2 separate regions of the Homo sapiens genome follow, and region 2 is linked to region 1. The links are contacts of gene promoters, found by promoter capture Hi-C in blood cells and fetal thymus (Javierre and others, 2016). All regions are on one chromosome and are shown on one strand. The core of a region is centred on a gene start or on the middle of the fragment in contact, and the rest is flanking DNA. Distances in the headings are between cores, read along the strand shown.

Region 1 (5,694 bases), core at 1,531-4,030:
CTATTGATGGGAAAGCACTAATTAGCAGCTTCGGTGAAAATATTAAAATATGTATTTTTCCTCTACATTCTTATCCTAGTAATCTCAATATTTTTTCAAAGTAAAAAATTGCCCCAAAATAGTTTTAGATTTGTGGTTCTTAAATTTAGTTTGTATAAGTATCACTTAGGGAGAGTGTTAAAAATGCTACCAAGGTCTCACCTCCAAATATTACGGTATATAATGAGGATGAGATCTACACATTTCATAAGCACCCCAGAAGATTATAATGCAGACGGCCCACAGATCATTTTGAAAACTACTTCTAGTCTAGAAAATCCAAATGAACTATACCCAATCCTCCTGGTGAACTTTAAACTAAAATGACCTGGATTTTAGCTTTTGAGGTCCCCCCCCTTTATAAATGTAACTGAACTAAATTACAGAAAATATCAGAAACAAAGAATAAAGAAGAAAAAAAGGTACTTTCATCTCACTACTCCAGGTGACTTTGCTTAGCATTTTGGTATGTTTCCTTTTATCCCGGTCTCTAGGTATATGTTTGTTCCATGTCTTTTCACGTTGTAACCATGGTGCAGTTTCAAGTGCTATCCGTCATATTTAGTGACTGCATTATATCTCATCAAGTGAACCTACCACTGTTTAACCATTCCCTACAGCTGACTACTTCCTCACTACTATAAATAAAGCTGTAAATATTTTTGTATGCAATTTGCAATACTTGAATGCTTCTTACGTGTGGAAAGAAAATCTATAGCACCAAACTGTTTTCCAAAAGGGTTTTTACCACCATCTTTGTCAGAAAATGCTGTTCAGATGTTACCTTTAAATTTTTTGGTGGGATTAATGGAAGGAAAAAATACCACTGTCTTTTAATTTGCACTTCCTAATTACCAGCCAGGTAAAACATTCGTTAATTAGTTGTATTTTTTCTTTCTCTAAGTTATCTATCCTGTCCTTTATCCATTCGTCAATGGAATCTTATTATTTGTTTCTAGTTGTGTGAACTTTACATTCATTTTCTTGTTCATCTTTCTGATTCAACTGTGAACCTTTGTATCTAATTCTGTCCCACTGACCTGCCTGTTTTTGCTTCAGTACTACCCAAGACTCTGCCATTTTAATAACAACACGTTCTACTCAGGCAGCTATTTAAAACCATCTTAGTATAATGAAACAGACATGGTCTTCAGTGTGAGTTAGCTGTTTGTTACCTTGGGCAAGATACTTGACTCTTCTGGGCCTCAGTCCCATTTGTGAAATTGGGGTAAACAATTCTTACGCCTCCCTAACAGGATGGCTGTGATTAAAAGCTAGTAATGCCAAACAATCACCTTTTCATTAGATGTCAATCTACTATCCTCAAATAACCAACAAGCAAATTCTAACATCAAGGGAGGGATTCATTTATAAGCAAATGTGACCTTGTGTGTAGAAACACAAAGCAGGTAAAGCCTCACTTGTCTGTTTTCGTATTTACTTTCCTGGGTCTTGACAACTAATACGTTAATGAAAAACAAAAACAAAAACAAAAAAGTGGCCAGGCGCGGTGGTTCACGCCTGTAATCCCAGCACTTTGGGAGGCCGAGGTGGACGGATCGCTTGACCCCAGGAGTCCGAGACCAGCCTGGGCAACATAGTGAAACCCTCTCTCTACCAAAAATAAAAATAAAAAAAATTAGCCGGGCGTGGTGGCGCGTGCCTGTAGTCCCAAATACTCGGGAGGCTGAGGTCGGAGCATCACCTGAGCCCGGAGAGGTCGAGGCTGCAGTGAGCCATGATCGCGCTACAGCATTCCAGCCTGGGCAACAGAGCAAGACCTTGTCTCAAAAAAAGCGGGGGGAAGGGGGTGACAATAACCCCAAAACATCAGTCCTGCAAGATTTTTCAACTACTCTCTTCCCCCAAACAAAAACATAAAACTTCGCAAATGGGCAATCAGGACAACCTGATCTGCCCCTCTATCCTTGCCACTTGTCTAATTCTGAAGTCTGAGCGACAATCCATAATTGGAATGCGAAACGCCTTTCAATGGTAAAACGCACGCTTGCCTAATGAAGACACTAACGTTTAGTTGGCGACTGAGCCGTCCTGGTTCACAGATTTCGATTTCGACCCTCCGGAGCATCAACGGCTCGGGAGGAAACTGAGGCCCCGGGCGGGTCAGAAGAGCCCAGCCCAAGGTCATCCGGGAGTCCGGGTAGGCCGGGCCCCGGGGATCTCCCAGCCCGGCCCGGCCCGGCCCGGCCCGGCCCGGCCCGGCCCGCGCTGCCGCTCACCTCAGCAGCGCCAGGAAGGCTGCGGGCTCCACGTCCGGCAGCTCGATCTCGGCCGACGTGGTGGCCATGCCGCCGTTGAACATGGCGTCAAAGACGGCGCTGCCGGCCGCCAGCACGAAGCGGTGGGCGGGGATGCGCTGCGGGCCCCCAGCGGCGGCGGCGCCGCGACCCTTGCCCAGTACGAAGCGCACATCGCTCAGCAGCTCCGAGTTGAAGAGGAAGGCGAAGCGCTCCTTCAGCGACGCCTTGGTCGCCTGCCAGTTGTAGAGAGGTTCCCGCTGCAGGGGGAGCAGGGGCCCCAGAGAGGACGGTGAGGGCGGCGGCGGCGGCCCCGCGGGGCCCGGCTCCGCCTCAGCCCCCGACGCCTGCTCCCCAGCTGCGGCAGGCCCGAGTGAGGCCATCCTCCAGCTGCGCGGTTGCCCACGTTATGGACAAAACTCCGCCGCCATCGCCCAGGCCGCCTCCGGAGGCCGGCGCTGCCTCCCTGCCTTCCGGGAAAGGCGCTTCCGGGGGCCTCGCGCCTCCGCAGGCCCCTCCCTGACCGCGCGCGCCCCCGCACGCCCGGGTTGCCGCTGTGCGCGGCCGCGGGAGGTGTAACAGGACTGGACTCCCGGCAGCCCCAGGGCAGGGGCGTGGGGAGCTGGTCCTAGCTCAGCGCTCCCGGAGGTGGAGCTTCTGCAGGCTGGGTGCTGCCGGGCCTACGGGCACCCACCCCCTGGCTCAGTGCCCTGGGTATTCTGACTCAGTAGGTCTGGGGTAGGGCCTGAGAATTTGTAATTTTAAGATGCATCGTGGATCTGCAGGCGGCTCTCACGGCTGCCTTTTTCTTCCTGCAGGCCCCTTATCACCAAGTCCAGCGCCCCCATTGTGTATCTGGGACATGTCCCAAGGCCTGTCCCGAGGAGTGTTTTGCCTGGAAGTGGAGGGGCAGGAAAGTATGGCCAAGGGAACACGTGAGGGAGGGGATGACATGACTTCCCACAACCCTGTACCCCAAGCGTGGCCAAGTCGCCGCTCCAGAAGGCCGCGAAACCCGTGGAAATTCCGGAAGCAGAGGTGGAAGGCTTAGAACCCCAGTGACCTCTCCCCAGGTCCGCAGGTCCCTTTCCCTTCTAATTGACCCTTTGGTTCCGTCCTCTGGGCCTAAGAGACATTTCCTTCTACTGCTTCCACCCCTGTATTTGAAACCCCTCGTGCTTGCCCACCTTCTCTTGTAGCGCTTTTCAGTCCTTGCACTGAACCACTGCCTAAGCTTGAAATTTAAAAAATTAAAAACTAAAACACACACACAATGGAAAAGGCTGTATTATCCCTTCCCAGGCAGTATTTACAACCCGGTCATCATGATTGGGGGACCGAGGCCTTCCTTTTTCTCCCTTCAGTGAGGCAGGCCCTGAGTTAAGTCAGCTGTCAAAAGCAGAACGTAGAAAACCCAAGAAATAGTCCTTGACCAGGCACGTATAGTTGGAAACACCTGTTCTTTGCAGGAAGAGCCTTACAGATTACAAATGCCGTCAAGTAAATAGTAAACCCCAAACCTGGGTTTCTCCTGTAAAATCACTCCACTTGTGAAACCACCAGAGGGGACTTCCAGCTGTTAGGCATTTAGAATGGTAACTTCTTTGGGAGAGGAACGTGCTTGGGAAGAGACTTAAAGTAGTAGGGGCTGAAATAGTGGATGCACAACCCCTTCCCCATTGCCAGCCGGCAATTCCTAAAGACAAAGGGACATCATGCTACTAATGATACCATTATCACACCTAACAAAATTAACCATATCATCAAATCATCTATATATGATTTTTTTTTTTTTGAGACGGAGTCTCGCTCTGTTGCCAAAGCTGGAGTGCAATGGCATGAAGTCTGCCTTCCGGGCTCAAGCGATTCTCCTCCTCAGCCTCCCGAGTAGCTGGGGTTACAGGTGCGTGTCACCACATCCAGCTAATTATTTGTATTTTTAGTAGAGACGGGGTTTCACCATATTGGCCAGGCTCCTCTCCAAGTCCTGACCTCGTGATCTACCCGCCTCGGCCTCCCAAAGTGCTGGGATTACAGGCATGAGCCACCAGGCCTGGTCCTATGTATAATATTTAATGTACAGTTAATATTTGTTTCTCCACTTGTCTCTAAAAAAATTTTTTTTTGAGACGGAGTCTTGCTCTGTTGCCCAGGCTGGAGGGCAGTGGCATGATCTCCGCTCACTGCAAGCTCTGCCTCCCACGTTCACGCCATTCTCCTGTCTCAGCCTCCCGAGTAGCTGGGACTACAGGCACCTGCCACCAAGCCTGCTGATTTTTTTTTTTTTTTGTATTTTTAGTGTGTCCAGAGTTCGTTCCTTCTGGTGGGTTCGTGGTCTTGCTGACTTCAAGAATGGAGCTGTGGACCTTCCTGATGAGTTTTATAGCTCTTAAGATGGCAGGGACCCAAAGACTTCTTCTGAAGAGCAAAAGAACAAAGCCCTTATGTCATGGAAAGGAACCCCAACGGGTGGTTGCAGTCTCTGGGCGTGGGGGCAGGAGGGGAGGGGCCGGCGGGGGTGGGGGGGGTGGAGTCAGCTTTTACTTCCTTATTTGTCCCCGCCCATGTCCTGCTGATTGGTCCATTTTACAGAATGCTGATTGGTGCACTTTACAGAGTGCTGATTGGTCTATTTTACAGGGTGCTGATTGGTCCATTTTACGGAATGCTGATTGGTCCATTTTACAGAGTGCTGATTGGTCCACTTTACAGAGTGCTGATTGGTCCATTTTACAAACCTCTAGCTAGCCACAGAGTGCTGATTGGTGTGTTTTTACAGAGCACTGACTGGCACATTTTACAAACCACTTGTAAGACAGAAAAGTTCTTCAAGTCCTCACCCTACCCAGAAGTCCAGTTGGCTTCACCTGTCATTAGTAGAGACGGGGTTTCACCGTGTTAGCCAGGATGGTCTCAATCTACTGACCTTATGATCTGCCCACCTTGGCCTCCCAAAGTGCTGGGATTACAGGCATGAGCCACTGTGCCTGGCCAAAAATATCTTTCACAGATGACTTTTTTTCCAATCCAGGATCAAATCAATGTTCACATATTATTGACTGTGTTGACTTCTTTGAAGGTCCGGGGAATTGTGGAGTATAATGCTCCACAATCTGGATTTGTCTGGTGGATTCTGTATGATTCATGGTTAGATTCCAGGTTAAACATTTTAGGCAAGAATATGCTGGTGATGTTAAGTACTTCATTGCCTCACTTCAGAAAGCGTATGTTGGTGATGCTAAGCTTGATGACCTGGTGAGGCTGTGACTGTCAGATCCCTCCATTATGAAGGTGTATGATTCTTATGTAATAAGTAATCCATGAGGGTGATGCTCTGAGACTGTTTGACCAGTCTGTTTCCCCAAAAAGCTTTCACCTACTGATTTCAGTATCCATT
Region 2 (5,596 bases), core at 1,739-4,238, 2.1 Mb before region 1:
GAAAAGAATAAAGTGGAGGTTGAGTAGGCAACTACGCCTGCTTTCCTTCACTCTTAGGACCAGTGCAATTTAAATTCTCTCACACCGTAGGAGTGGCTGATATTCTACATATTCATGCATGCATCTGTATGTAAACACGCTAAGCTATGACCTTTCCTATTGACGTTGAGCAGAAACAACTCATAAGAAAAAGATTTTTTCTTTTGTGAAATCATAGGGGAAATGTCATGAGCTTTCTCCCCAGAGCACATTGCTCCACCCAGTGGCTTGGAGCCCTATCCTAGTGCAGTCATACTAAAAAACATGCACAGCTGTGGCTGATCATGTGCTCTACTGGGAGGGGTCACCCTGGTAATTCATATTGCCAGCTTCAAAGTTAAGGGGCAAACGTGTTGGGATTCTTGGCCCACATATCTAGTTATAGAGAATAAGATCATTGAAAGTTTTACAGAAATTGTTGGGAATGTGTAGAAAGTTTCAGGGCTACTGACTTTCCTCTAAGGAGGAAATCAATTCGGCATATAATCCACTGATATGAAAACATCTGGATCAATTGCATTTTCAACATTTGGATATTTGAAACTTACTTTAGTGTTTGGAACTTGATTCCATTCAACTTGGGGGGAATTTTATTTACCAAAGACCTATTGTTAACCAAGAATCAGGTGAGGCACTGATGCAAAAATGAATATAACAATATCCTTACTCTGGCAGAGCAGATAAACAATATGCAGTAAATTTCATGCAGATTACAGGAGATCCGGGCCCAAAGGGATGATGTGATGATGATGATAATCTCTCCAATTTAAATAAGAGGAAATCCTGGTTTTACAATTACACAATTTGTCTGAGGCTGCACAGCTAGTGCAGCGGCAAGGCAAGAATCTAAGCCGAGGTGTACTGGATAACAAGGTCCAGTCTTCTTGGAGTCCTTCTTCCGCCACAGCACCATCTAGGTTAATCAGTGAGGCACTCAGGATGGTTAAATTGGGAGCCAAATGGAAAATGCATTGAAAAGTCTGGAGCGAGGAGCACTCAGATGGGACAAGAGTCTGTGCCAGGTACCAGGTGGTGCAGTGTAGACTGGAGAGGACAGATGTGAAAGATTGTGTGCTCATGGCCTAAGTGAAGCCACAAGTCTCTTCAGTGCTCTGGGGTTAATACTAACCCCACCTCTAAGTGATTCAGTGACTGTGGATGGTAAAGTTGAATCTCAGATCTAATTAGTGTCTTAACCTGAGCTCATCCTGGCATGCATCATTCCACAACAGAGGAGGGTGAAGCAAGACTTTCTAGTACTATTTGGAAGCAGGCGGGGGTAATATTCAAAATGTTGAAAAACTGGAGTAGCACAATTACCAGTTAATCAGAACTGAGGCAGATGAGCTGATGGGTACAGTCACCATTGTGCCAAACATTAACCCTCTAATGACTGACTCATGGGAAGGCATAGGAGGAGAGGCCTGGGGATGGGCTGAGAGAGGTAATGAGTATTTACCATTTTGCACTTTTGTTGCTTTTTAATCCAATGTAAGAATAGACGTACTGCATACTTCCTGGGTTTTACCAGCCCCTAAATTTACTCACTTAAAAAATTTAATTACATAGACACGAATCATTCATTGTAGTTGCTAAATATTGGTAGCAACTAACTCGTTGCCTTTTGTTGGAATTTCAGATTTTCAGTAGAGAATGTGACTGGCCCAGTCTGAGGCAGGTGTCCATTCCTGGTCACCACCATTATTTTTGGGCAGAAGAGCATACTCACAGAGTTAAACATAATAATTAAAATTGTGTTTTCCTGGCTGGGCATGGTGGCTCATGCCTATAATCCCAGCACTTTGGGAGGCTGAGGCGGGCAGATCGCCTGAGGTCAGGAGTTTGAGACCAGCCTGGCCAAGATGGTGAAACCCCGTCTCTACTAAAAATACAAAAATTAGCTGGGTGTGGTGGCATGCACCTGTAATCCCAGCTACTCGGGAGGCTGAGGCAGGAGAATTGCTTGAACCCGGGAGGCAGAGGTGGCAGTGAGCCGAGGTTGTGCCACTGCACTCTAGCCTGGGTGACAGAGTAACACTCTGTCTCCAAAAAAAAAAAACAACTTATAAATCAATAAGAAAAAGATGAACAACCAAATGAAAAACGGTCTAGGACATGAATAGGTAATTCCCAAAAGAATAAATATAAATGGCCAGTTCACATGTGGCAAAAACAAAACAAAACACAGAATCTCTCTAATATCAAAAAATGCAAATTCAAACATGTTATAATTTTTAAATTATCAGTTGATCCTGGATAAAAATACAGACAGTATACACTGTTGACAAGGCTAAGGAAAGAAGTCTTCTCACTCACTTCTCGGGGGATGGAGTTTTCTGCTTGAAAATTAGGTGAAATGTATCAACTCCCCCTCCCCACAAAAAAGTGCATAATATGATTAGCAAGTCTACTTCCAAGAACTTGACTCTGAGGAAACAGACAATGAAAATAATAGTAATGTTAATATTGAGCACTTACTATTCGACAGGCATTCTGCTGAGTGCTTTCCGTGTATTTCTTCACTTACCCAATGTAACAATCCTATAACACTCTCCATGAGTGGGGAAAATGAGAACAACTCTAAGTGTTTCAAAAATTGTAGACTATAAAATCTACATTTACAGTTGCAAGCTGTATTCCACACATATGATGGATAATATGCAATCAAATATATATATTTGTTGCTACTAAAGATATTCATTTTATACTATATGATTTTAAATGCTATTAAAATTATACAGATATATATCTATGTATAGGAAAAGAGCTGCAAATATGTATACGATGGCTGTCTCTAAGCAGTGAGATTCCAAAATATTTTAACCTTTTCTCTGTATTTTCTATTTTTCTTCACATCTAACATACGTCAGTGGTGGTGTGTTGTTTTTGTTTGTTTGTTTTTTTGAGACAGGGTCTTGCTCTGTCACCCAGACTGGAGTGCAGCGGCCAGATATTGGCTCTCTGCAACCTCCACCTCTCAGGCTCAAGGGATCCTCCCGCCTCAGCCTCCCATACCACACCTGGCTAATTTTTGCATTTTTTTTTCTTTTTTGAGACAGAGTTGCACTGTGTAGCCCAGGCTGGAGTGCAGTGGTGCGATCTCAGCTCACTGCAACCTCTGCCTCCCGGGCCCCAGTTCAAGCAATTGTCCTGCCTCAGCCTCCTGAGTAGCTGGGATTACAGGCACATGCCACCATGTCCGGCTAATTTTTGTATTTTTAGTAGAGACAGGGGTTTCACCATGTTGGCCAGGCTGGTCTTGAACTCCTAACCTCGTGATCCACCCGCCTTGGCCTCCCAAAGTGCATTTTTTTTTTTTTAAAGGATGGGTTTTCACCATGTTGCCCAAGCTGGTCTAGAACTTTTGGGCACAAGTGATCCATCCACCTCGCCCTGCCAGAGTGCTGGAATTATAGGCGGGAACTGCCGCGCCTGGCCCACTTGTGCTTTAAAAGGAGAGACACACATAAACACACTGCTGCTTACAAAATGTGAATTGATACCCTTCTTTCCACCAATATGTAAGGGTGAAAAGTCTAATTTCAATGGAAATTATCAGAATAATACATGTAATTCAAATTATCTACAATAGTGCAATGGCCTTGAAAATTTGGGGATGAGATCTGAATCTCTGAAGAAGGCAGGACTTTTATCTGTGTCATCTGAAAAAATTACATGTACTTTGCAGCACAGATATATGCAGTTATGTTCAGAAAATTCAGTCTGTTTCCAAAGAATCACCTCCCTGGACTATCTCAAACAAGCTGTAAGAAAAATGAGGTGAACACACTTGCTAAGCAAACAGGCCTCAGGCCTCCCCTTCAATCTTAAGAGTTGTGAGCTGTTAGGTCATGACCAGACCTAGACTGTACCCCTGCTGTTGTTTCATGAATATCCATGACTTTCTGTCCGTTACTGAATAAAAGTTGTGAGCAGCCAGAGTTTGGTTCAATAAAAGGGCACCTTTCTTGCACAGAGACTTAACAGATAAAATAATTCATTAACTTATTAATGCCATAAACACTGAATACATTAAATGTGGGGGAAAGATGCATAGATCAAGTCCCTGCCCTTACAGAGATGATAGGGTTGTGGAGAGAGTTACACCAACAGTTACAAGTACTTGACGCCACTCTGAAGCTGAGCAGGCATCATAGTAGCTACAAGGGGGGGAAGAAATACCTGGGTCTGTCTGAAAGATCAGGGAACCTCCTTGTGAGGCACCAATACATCTAATCACTCTGTAGTTACTGACTACTAGGCACCATGAGAGATGTCAAAACTTGGTCAGGCATGATTAGTGTTAAGACCAGGGTGCCTGAAACTTAGCACTTGTTTTTTCTCTTCTTCAGGATGCTGGAAAATAGAAAATACATCCAAAGATGGCTGGCCAGTAAATGAATGGGGTACAGAATTTATTAATCTGTGCAAGCAAACTTTGCCTCCATGGAGGGTGCTCTGGTAAACTAATGCAGAAAATTCCAGCTCTCCTAGACTTCAGGACCTGCATGCTCAGGTGTGCCTGCCAAGGTATAACTGGTCCAGCACACAGGGCTCCCTCACACACCCAGCTGCAGGTGAACAGAGAGAAAGCATGGAGGGAGGAAGGGAGGGTGGAAAGTGGGGCTGGGGAGGAAATGGGAGTGATGTGTGAGGTACTGCCCAGGTGTTCTTACTGGATGGGAACAAAATATGCCAGAGAGCAAGAGGACATGCCAGGTAAGGAGAGCGAGGTGTTAGACAGTGATCTTGCTCCCTGGTGAACCAGGGGCTGTTGTCATGCATCACCTATGACAATGAAGGAATCTGGGGAAAAGAAGGAGAGATATAAATTCCTCTCTTTTACAACAGATAGTGAAAGGGAAATAATGCATATGTATAAGAAAGATAGCCTGAGATGTAATTGGCCCATCTGTGTGCACAAAAGCAAAACAGAGGGACATTGCTCCAAAGGGAAAAATAATTAGGGCAGAGAATGCCTCTTACTGACCAACAGGTGGCACTACAGACCAAACACAGCATGGTTGTTGGTCTGTAAAGTGTGGGGTAGTGTGAAAGTTGGGTATCAAAACCCAGAGTGGCCAGACAGGCTCACACCTGTAATCTCAGCACTTTGGGAGGCTAAGGTGAGAGGACCACTTGAGGCCAAGGGTGTGAGACCAGTCTGGATATCAAAGTGAGACTGTGTCTCTGAGACTTTCTCGCTACTAAATAAATAAATAAATAAATTTTTGATAGAATGAAAAGATCCGGAGTGCTTACAATGGAATACCGTTCACCCATAAAAAAGAAGGGAAATTCCCATGTATGCTATAATATCAATGAATCTTAAAGACATTATGTTAAGGCTGGGCACGTGGCTCATGCCTGTAATCCCAGCACTTTGGGAGGCCAAGGCAGGCGCATCACGAGGTCAGGAGATCGAGACCATCCTGGCTAACACAGTGAAACCCCGTCTCTACTAAAAATACAAAAAAAAATTAGCTGCGTGTGGTGGTGGGTGCCTGCAGTCCCAGCTACTCGGGAGGCTGAGGCAGGAGAATGGCATGAACCCGAG

Evidence for each region. Contacts are between HindIII fragments. The CHiCAGO score rates a contact against its expected background, and 5 or more counts as called.
Region 2: a fragment that was not itself captured here is called in contact with the fragment with the promoter of BTBD1 in region 1 in 1 of 17 cell types (naive CD8 T cells); the score reaches 5.7 in naive CD8 T cells.

The regions. Positions count from the first base shown.
Region 1 is chr15:83,064,472-83,070,165 of GRCh38, forward strand. It overlaps BTBD1 (BTB domain containing 1), which reads right to left and starts at 2,781. Exons shown (of 8, transcript NM_025238.4): 1 at 2,280-2,781. The coding sequence starts at 2,680. It overlaps MIR4515 (microRNA 4515), which reads left to right and starts at 2,864; the gene lies at 2,864-2,944. RefSeq lists silencers at 2,099-2,268, 2,509-2,988, 4,865-4,914 and enhancers at 3,049-3,168, 3,179-3,228, 4,666-4,960. The HindIII fragment of the contact is 13,987 bases long and covers 1-3,529 here.
Region 2 is chr15:80,991,391-80,996,986 of GRCh38, forward strand. No RefSeq gene overlaps it. Among named protein-coding and RNA genes, the nearest start is that of MIR4514, 3.3 kb to the right of the region's middle. The HindIII fragment of the contact is 7,858 bases long and covers 1-5,596 here.